Regions from separate parts of the Homo sapiens genome. Here region 1 is linked to region 2. Evidence: promoter capture Hi-C in 16 types of primary human blood cells and fetal thymus (Javierre and others, 2016). All regions are on one chromosome and are shown on one strand. Each heading gives the region's core, a stretch centred on a gene start or on the middle of the fragment in contact. The rest is flanking DNA. Distances are from core to core; before and after follow the strand shown.

Region 1 (4,920 bases), core at 2,097-4,596, 450 kb before region 2:
CAGGGTCTTGCTGTGTCACCCATGCTGGAGTGCAGTGGCACAATCTCAGCTAACTGCAACCTCCTTCCACCAGGCTCAAGTGGTTCACCCACCTCAGCCTCCCGAGTAGCCGGCACCACAGGAACGCACAAGCACACTGAGCTATTTTTTTTGTATTTTTAGTAGAGATAGGGATCTTGCCATGTTGCCCAGGCTGGTCTTGAACTCCGGAGCTCAAGCAATCCGCCTGCCTCGGCCTCCCAAAGTGCTGGGATTACAGGCGTGAGCCACTGCACCCAGCCTGTGTGCTTTATTTTTCCAACCTGTACTTCATTCCTGTCTTCTTTGCTTAATGTTTCCACCATCTGCTTCTCTGAAGGCTCCTGTTGCTTGCTTATGTCCCTACTGAGAAATCCACCTGAGTCAGAACCAGGCTTGCTTGTCCACCCCGTCAGCTTTCCACATGTTTATGAAGTGCACCTGCCTCCCTGCCCACTCACGCTCTCAAATAATAGTAAGCCTGTGAAGCCAGACTCTCTCTAACCTGCAGTATTTACAAGATCAGACACATCAGCAATGGGACAATGGTTCCAGTACTGGGACAGGCCTTGCCCTAGTTCTTTCTTGAGGGTGTAAAAATGAAATATGTGAGATGGACAATTGACTTGAATGTGAGAGGATTTTCTCTAGTCTTCTGTGGCCTCATTTTTAATTTGAGCAGGAGCTCTCATTTAATCTTTTACTTTCATGCTCACAGTTACTATGGTGATCTTGGCTTGGTCATTTATTTGGTCCCCTAACTCAGTACCTTAGTTTGGCAGAAAGTGGTAGCAGAGGAAGGTGGGTGGCATGTGAGGGCATGTCTGTGTCCTGGATAACCTGTCTGTCACTGGTTTAGACTTTCACACCATACCGGACAGCGTGGCGCCCCATAGTCACCGCCACCCACATCGGGTCCCACATCCGAGTAGGTGGAGTATTGACTTGGTTGCCTTTTCCCCCTTGCTTTGGAGTGCCTTTCACTTCTTTCTCAGTGGTGGGGTCACAGTTTTGCCAACAGTGGTGGAAGTGAATTGTGTGAGCATGTATTCCTCTGCTGCTTTCTCCTTTCAAGTAAAACATCCACACTTGTTTCTAAGAGAATCCACCCATGTTGACTGTCACATGGTTTTCAGGTTTTCATTTTGCTAGGAGTGACATCTCAATCATGGGTGGATCCCAGACTTCTTTTCTGTTAGTGTTTAAACCGCTTTGTTTGTTTTACTTATGTCTGTCAGTGTTGTACAGAAACTCCCAGTATCTTGGGTAGGCATAATCAAGGCATTGAGGTTGGATTGGAATACCAGAATGCATCATCTAAGCTTGAATTGATTACTAATTTCCTCCAATTCTTGATAAGTCCTTACTGGGCCTGTGTTATGAGAACCCAAAGATGCTGGGAAGTGAATACGTTTGACCCTGTGGCTGCCACTTGGGTGAAGTTTGGAATAAACCTCACTTGAGATGTACCACAAACTGTCTTTTCACAGAAGGTCCAAAGTTTTTTCTATCAGGGATCCTTTTTGATAGCTGATGACTTTTCAGGACCCCATCTTTTCTACTTTTTTATTTTTCCCGAGATGGATTCTTGTTCTGTTGCCCAAAGCTGGAGTTCAATGGCACAATCTTGGCTCACTGCAACCTCCACCTCCCAGGTTCAAGCAATTCTCCTGCCTCAGCCTCCCGAGTAGCTGGGATTACAGGTGTGTGCCACCATGCCCGGCTAATTTATGTATTTTTAGTAGAGACGGGTTTCACCATGTTGGCCAGGCTGGTCTCGAACTCCCGACCTCCTGATCTGCCCACCTCAGCCTTCCAAAGTGCTGGGATTACAGGAGTGAGCCACTGCGCCCAGCCCTTTTCTACTTTTTTTTTGAGACGGAGTCTCGCTCTGTCGCCCAGACTGAAGCACAGTGGCACAATCATGGCTCACTGCAAGCTCCAACTCCCTGGGGTCAAGTGATTCTCCTGCCTCAGCCTTCTGAGTAGCTGGGATTACAGGTGTGCGCCCCCATACCCGGCTCATTTTTGTACTTTTAGTAGAGATGGGGTTTCACCATGCTGGCCAGACTGGTCTTGAACTCCTGACCTCGTGCTCTGCCCGCCTCGGCCTCCCAAAGTGCTGGAATTACAGGCATGAGCCGCTGCACCCAGCCTCCCCTTTACTACTTTTCCACCAAGATTTTCCTGTTGTGCCTCATAGTTTTTACATTGATGATGCCTATAAGACCTCTTCTTTTGTTTTTTTCCCTTTATCTCCATGAATTTGGAATACATCCTTCAGTAATTTCAGCTCAGTTTACACATTAATTCCTCATTTTTCCTTTCCCAGTAGTCTTCTGGATTAGGAATTCCACTCTAATAATTTAATAATAATTAATAGTATCAATTGTGTACCTATTATTATATAATACTAAAATATATAACTATACAATATAAATATATCATAAATATAATTATAAATGAAATATAAAGATATTATTAATAATATAAATGATAATGATTTTCCTGATGTAAACTAGAGTAAATCTACCTGTGAAAGAACTAGAGTAGATCTACCTACTTGTAACTTGAAGACCACCAAAAAACCACTGTGAACTGTGGACTTTTCCCTACTGCCAGTTAAATTTACTATTTCCTCTCAGTTTAGGGATTATCTTTTAAAAATATTTTTATTCAGCGCTCCATAAGGTCTCTAACTTGTCTAAACTCTATGGAAGAGCCAGATCCCACAGAGCCAGTTGTGATCTGATTAAAACTCTGATTTGAAACTTTCAGACCCGTTTGATGGAGCTGCACCGCCAGTGGGAATTACTTTTGGAGAAGATGCGAGAAAAAGGAATCAAACTGCTGCAGGCCCAGAAGTTGGTGCAGTACTTACGAGAATGTGAGGACGTGATGGACTGGATCAATGACAAGGCACGTTTTGGGAAGAAGGGTTTGCTAAGCTTTACTCAAAGAAAAGGGAAGAGACTCCTCTGTGATCTGTAGTGAGACCCAGTGTTAGCACAGATACGGCCATTTTAAGTAAAAGGGTGGAAGTGGGGTTGCTGTCTCTCCAGCTGCTCTCTAGGTGTATGTGCTATTCTGTAACTCTGAAGCCTGGAGTCGCTGAGACAGAAATGCCGTGAACTCAACCTCTTAACTTTCTGTGGGAGGAACTAAAATCACAAACCACAGACAAAACTGTATCCATTAAAGCTAACATGGCTCCGTCCCTAATGTGTCTGTTTGATGTTTCTGGAAGCCATTGTTAACAAATGTTGGTTGGTGACTCTGGCTCTCTTATGGTCCCTGAATAGGAAGCAATTGTTACTTCTGAAGAGCTGGGCCAGGATCTGGAGCATGTAGAGGTTTTACAGAAGAAATTTGAAGAGTTTCAAACAGATATGGCTGCTCATGAAGAAAGAGTTAATGAAGTGAACCAGTTTGCTGCCAAACTCATACAGGTAAATAGCAAAGTGCTGTATGCTTCTCACAACATTATTATGTTAACTTTTTAGTATATTCAGGATAAAATTTTGATGATTGGTCCCCTAATTTCTGAGTGAGCAAGTTTTTGTAAGCATGTCTGAGAGTTTTGTTTAGATGTGAGGCACAATACTGATTACTCCTAAATTGGAAAATGCTTTTCAATGTGTTGCCTTGGGCAGGAAGGGCAGAGTTCATTTGATCTGTTTCCTCTACCCACTTTTGGGTAGGGCTGGGTGAAGCTTTTATTGGACTGCTGAAGCTAGGTCTCAGGGTTTCTCAGACGAGGGTGTGGTGGTGAATGCTAAGTTAGTATTGGCAGATGTCCACCAATGCATTAGGGCTCTTGCCTTCCTTTTTTATTTGAAGCTTCCCTGGGCTCTCTTGGGAGCCTGGGAGAACCTTGTCGTGAATAGGCTCTCCACTCTGGCGCTGGAGCCCATTAAGAGGGAATGACAACCCTTCCCCAGTGCCCACGTGTACAATCCTGTAAGCTGCTTCCACTACGAGTCCAAAGGGTTCCAAAGACATCAAGTACTCGGAACCAGAGAGTTTTTACTTTTAGGGAAATTTGATTTGGGGGGTACAAATTTTAAGTGTATAAATCTGCTTATAGGCTGGTACTTGTTTCCATTTTCTGGCCAGTGATTAAGAGAAAGATACCCGGCATTCCTCAGAAATATCTCACCCTTCCACAGTGACAGATGTGTTGCTTTTCCAAACCCTAAGCTTTCCTGCGGTTGAGCTTGAGAAAAGTAGTCAGGCCAAACCCATGGTATCCCAGATGGATTCAAGAACCCTGAAATGCTTCATTTTATTACTTTGTATCATATTTTTTAAAACACCAAAATGTGGTTGGTAGGGAAGGATACTTTTAAAGAAATGTCTCTAAGCTTGATGCAGTGGCACCTGCCTATAGACCCAGCTACTCTACTCAGACTCAGGCTGACAAGACAGGATCACTTGAGACCAGCCTGGGTAACATAGCAAGACCCTGTCTCAAAAAAGAAAAAAAGAAATGTCGTCAGTCTAAAGCCAGGGACAAACTCTTGAGCCCCGAAAATTATGTTTATGTGCAAGAATGCTTAACAGCCTCATGAACATCTGAAATACCAAATTTTCAAGCAGTTAGGGTAGATGAGTACATTGATAAAGTTACCACACAGTTGTTGCCAAACTATTTATTAACATAAAGGTTTTTGGCACTTTTGCACATAACCACCTTATAGACTAACCACACTACTCCAAAAGATAGAGAATGGCTCTCCCCTTTTTACATAAGAAATAGAAACTCTTTGGAGTTGTAGTTCACTTTGTATCATGTTGACCATTATTTCTTGTGATTCTCTTCAGAGTGGTGATTTGCTGAGATGCTTCAAGGAACCAACCCCAGGGTAACTAGTTGGAGGAGCCAGAAGTTGTGTACAAATC
Region 2 (4,550 bases), core at 1,108-3,607:
CACTCCTCCTGCCCTCTCCCACCCCCACTGGCATCTTGTCCAAATCTGCCTTAGGTTTTCTTGCCTCGGTGCCCTTATCTGGGCTGCTCCTGCCACTTGGACCAACATCATGAGCCCCTCCCTACTTTCTGAGCACAGTTCAGGGGCCCTCCATGCAGGAGACCATCCCAGAATGACCCATACAAAAGGGATCCTGCCCTCTGGATCCTCATCTCAGGGCCAAGGCCTTGTTCCTTGCTGGATCGGGGAGGCTCTTAAAGTTGTTTCTTGTACCTGCAGGGACTGGGAGGTTCCTGAGCCCATCACATGTATTGATCATAAAGAACCCCTCTCCCATCCCTCCTGACTGTCTCCCATCCAGGCCAGCTTGGTCTCAGGCGGAGCCCCTCTGTGGCCTCTCCTGCCAGGTCACATTTCAGGCCTCTCTATCCCCTGGCCTGCCACTCTGCCCCAATCCTGCCAAGAGGAAGGGGTTTGGTGCTGGAGTCCGAGGCTGCTCCCGGGAAAATGGCAGCAGTGGGGTGGGCGTGCAGAGCAGAGAAAGCCTCTATTTATAAAGCTCTCAGCTCCCTCCCTCCCACCCCGAGGCTGGGGCCTGACTGCTGGCTCCCACTCCAGTAACAGTGACCCTGTGGGGCAGCTCCCACCAAGCGGAGCCACACCTAGGCCCTGCCCTGCCTAGGTCCTGAGAGCCCTGGCCAGGTCAGGCAGCAGGGCCCCAGCCCTAGCAGGGAACTGGCAGATCAGGTTCTTCCCAGATGTGGGAGATAGTGTGGTTGCCATACCAACAGCAGAGTGGGTTCCCCCCTCCCAGATGGACTGGGGCCGTCCAATCCGAGGGGCTCTGGGATCCTGGCATCTCCACTAGGGCTGGGGCTGCCCACCAGACTTGGAACACATTAAGCAGTGAATTCTCGCTGGGATGCTAATCCTCAGCGGGACACAGCACCTTCTAGTAAACATGACTACATGGGTTGCTGGCTGGGTGTGGGCTCCTGGGGAGGGGAGTGCCCGGGTTGGGGGTGGGGAGAGAACTGTACTCAACAGAAACAACAACGATGACAACGACAACGACAAAGACAAGACTACAGGACCTGCTCCCAGAACCCTGGGATGGGCCAGCCCCGGGCCTGCGGAATCCCACTGAATCCCATAACCACGGTGTTACACCAGATTTACAGAAGGGGAGGGCGGGGCTCTGAGAGAAGTGACTTGTCCAAGGTCACATGCTGCACAGGTGCAATATTAACCACTTTGACACCAATAATGAGCTTGCCTTTGGTGAGCACACATATGCAGAGTCCCACAGAATCCTCGCATCTGTCCTGGGAGGCAGGAATACTGATCCCATTTTTCAGACTGAGAAACTGAGGCCCAGTGAGATGAAGGCCCCTCCCCCAAGGTCACAGGAGGGCACATTCCCACCCACACCTGACCCTAGGTCTTCCCATGATGTTGAGTTGCCTGTTACTCTCTGCCCCTAAACGGATAGGACTTCTTCCAATCTCAGCATCGTGGGCCTGGACAGCTTCCCAGCCAGACCCCAGCCCTCTCTCCATCCCCCAGGCCCAGGGACCAAGGAAACAGACCTCCCGTGGAGCAGAAAAGAAACAACTCCTGGCTTCCGGCCTGACTATCCAAACGTGTGAAATGGCCATGAGGGACTCATGGCACCAGCCGCCCATTGCACAGGTGCGGAGACTGAGGCTCGGAGAAGGGGTTGTGGTGGACGCATGAGTCCCTGGGCCTGGGACCCAGGTCGCTAAATGCCCCGCCAGGCGCCAGTCACTGCTGGACAAGGGCAGGGAGGTAGCACCCAGCCGGTGCCTCCTCCCCTCCTCAGCCAGGCAGGCGCCAGGGGAGCAGGGTAACCCAACCAGCCCAAAGGGTGGGCACCGGTGCCTCGCCCCAGGCAGCAGGGCCAAGGCCCGGCTCGGGCCGCACGGGCTCTTTCCCTCTTCCGGTCAGCAAGGGCTCAGGGGGGCAGAGGTGTGCCGCGGCGGGGACGAGGGCAGCAGCCCGGGAGGGCTTTCCCGCGTCCCCAGGCGTCTGCCGCAGGGTGCTCCCCGCCCGCCGCACATCCGGGCCCCCGGCGCACGGCGCGACGCCAGGCCTCACCTGCACCGCCCGGGTGAAGAAGATGCCCGCGTCCGACGCCAGCTTCTTCATGTTGAAGTCCATGGCGTGCCCGCACGGCCGCCGCGCACGGCCCGAGCGCAGCCGGCAGCCCCCGGCCCAGCCGCCGCCGCCAACCGCACCCCGCCCACCTGCTGCGGGGCACCAGCCCTCCGCGCACCCGCCTGCCGGCCTGCCCGCCTGCCCGCCCGCCGCAGCCGCCGAGCCAGCCCGAGCGCGCAGGGCGGGGCGCGGAGGCCGCGGGTCGGAGCCAGAGGGGCGGGGGCGGAGCTGGCGGTGCCGGGGCGGGACGGGACGGCAGTGGGGCGGAGCTAGAGGGGCGGGGGCCGGGCTGGTTGGCGGAAGCCGGGCGGAGTCGGAGGGGGCGGGACTGGCGGGACAGGGGCGGAGCGAGAGGGCAGTGGGGCGGAGCTACATGGGTGGGGGCGAGGCCTTGGCGCGGCCAGAGCGGGGGTTGGTCTGGGGAGCAGGTTGTGCTGGGCAGGGCTCGCTGCTGGGCAGTGCTCGCTGCTGCCCCCATGCGCCTGCCGCCGCGGATTGGGCCGGCCTCTTTTTTTCCTTTTACTAAAATTATTAAAACTGGAACACATGTGCTCTTAGATGATTGCAGGTACACGCCATAATTACATATTATTTGCCATCTTACCAATGCTTTTCAAAAGTTTTAATTGATAAATATATATTTACGGCCTACAAGGTGATGAAATTGTGGAATGATGAAATCAAGTTAATTGACATATCCATCACCTCACCTACTTTTTTTGTGGTTAGAACATTTCAAATGTACTCTTTTAGCAATTTTGAAATATGCAATACTTTTTTTTTTTTTTTGTAGACAGAGTCTTGCTCTGTCGCCCAGGCTGGAGTGCAGTGGCGCGATCTCGGCTCACTGCAGCCTCCACCTGCCGGGCTCAAGCGATTCTCCTGCTTCATTCAGCCTCCCGAGTAGCTGGGACTACAGGCGCCCACCAACATGCCCCGCTAATTTTTTGTACTTTAGGAGAGACAAGGTTTTGCCATGTTGCCCAGGGTGGTCTTGAACTCCTGATCTCAGGCAATCTGCCTGCCTCAGTCTCCCAAAGTCACTAAGTGACTGAGTAGTCACCAATATGTGCAACAGATCTCTAAAATGGGCCTCTCTTGCTTTCTCCTCCCACCACCCAGGCCTGCTGCCTCTCCCCTGTTTGTGCCTCTTCATCTCCGCTCTTTATTCACACCCCCTCCCTCCCATTCCCATTTCTTCCACTCTGTTTCCCTTGGGTTTCCTCCCGTTACTCCTCCTCTCTGACCTCTCCTCCTCTCTTCTGCCCTGACCTTGGTGACTGAGCCGGAGTCAGGCTTGGGACTTGCCCTCCACCGCTGGAACAGCTGTTTGTCAGCCTGGGAGGCCCTGTGGCTTCCCCAAATTGGAGGAGGGTTGGGGTGGCGGTCACGGGAAGGGAGGGGGTTCTGGAGCTGGGGCCTGGAGCCCCCTGTGTGGTGAGAGGAGGAGATCAAAGGTTGGGTGACTGTCAGGGTGGAGAGAATGAGCTGCCCTGGGAGCACAGATGTGTGATAACCTTGAAACCAGCTCCTCACAGCCCCAGGCAAGGAGATGACCTACAGGTGCTCCTGACCCCAAATGCCTTCCCTTGGGGCTCAGATAGAGGCTTTGTACTGGTCTTCACCTCTCCTTGCTGTCTACCTCTAGGTTTCCTCTTTTTTTTTTTTTTTCTTTTTGAGATGGAGTCTCGCTCTTTCACCCAGGCTGGAATGCAGTGGCACCATCTCAGCTCACTGCAGCCACCGCCTCCCGGGGTCTAAGCGATTCTCCTGCCTCACCCTCCACAGTAGCTGGGATTACAGGCATGTGCCACCACGCCCGGCTGATTTTTGTATTTTTAGTAGAGACGGGGTTTCACCATGTTGGTCAGGCTGGTCTTGAACTCCTGACCTCGTGATCCACCTGCCTCCGCCTCCCAAAGTGCTGGGATTACAGGTGTGAGCCACCACGCCCGGCCTAGGTTTCACCTTTGAACCCAGTGGAGAGCTCTGTTCCCAAGCTGTACCCTCTTCTATCTGGCTTTGTTCATCTTTCTATACTTACCCCAGTTTCTGTCACCTATCCCAGCATGGCTCTGCAGGGTGAGCCTCAAGTCACCTGGGGGCTTGTTCAAAATCCAGACCCTGTTCCCTCTCCCAGCCCTGGTTCTGGGTCAACAAGTCAATGGCTCTAACATTAAATCACCTGGGAGCTTTCAAAACTCCACCTACCTGGGCCATCCTGTCATGTACTTGGGCCAGTATGTACATGTTGCCTTCATCAACTTTCATGTCATTCACACATCTGCAATCCCTCAACTCTGATTCTCTGTGTTTCTGTTTTTGTGTTCACTATGTGTTTGTTTCTATTTGTCTGTATTGATCATGGACTT

What was found. Contacts are between HindIII fragments. The CHiCAGO score rates a contact against its expected background, and 5 or more counts as called.
Region 1: a fragment that was not itself captured here is called in contact with the fragment with the promoter of SH3GLB2 in region 2 in 1 of 17 cell types (M0 macrophages); the score reaches 5.4 in M0 macrophages.

What each region holds. Positions count from the first base shown.
Region 1 is chr9:128,571,879-128,576,798 of GRCh38, forward strand. SPTAN1 (spectrin alpha, non-erythrocytic 1) reads left to right here. Exons shown (of 57, transcript NM_001130438.3): 4 at 2,797-2,937; 5 at 3,321-3,467. Among named protein-coding and RNA genes, the nearest start is that of SPTAN1, 22 kb to the left of the region's middle. The HindIII fragment of the contact is 765 bases long and covers 2,965-3,729 here.
Region 2 is chr9:129,025,974-129,030,523 of GRCh38, forward strand. It overlaps SH3GLB2 (SH3 domain containing GRB2 like, endophilin B2), which reads right to left and starts at 2,358. Exons shown (of 11, transcript NM_020145.4): 1 at 2,119-2,358. The coding sequence starts at 2,181. RefSeq lists enhancers at 219-782, 783-1,346, 1,347-1,910, 2,595-3,334, 3,335-4,074 and silencers at 627-858, 1,741-2,250, 2,291-2,720. The HindIII fragment of the contact is 23,138 bases long and covers 1-4,550 here.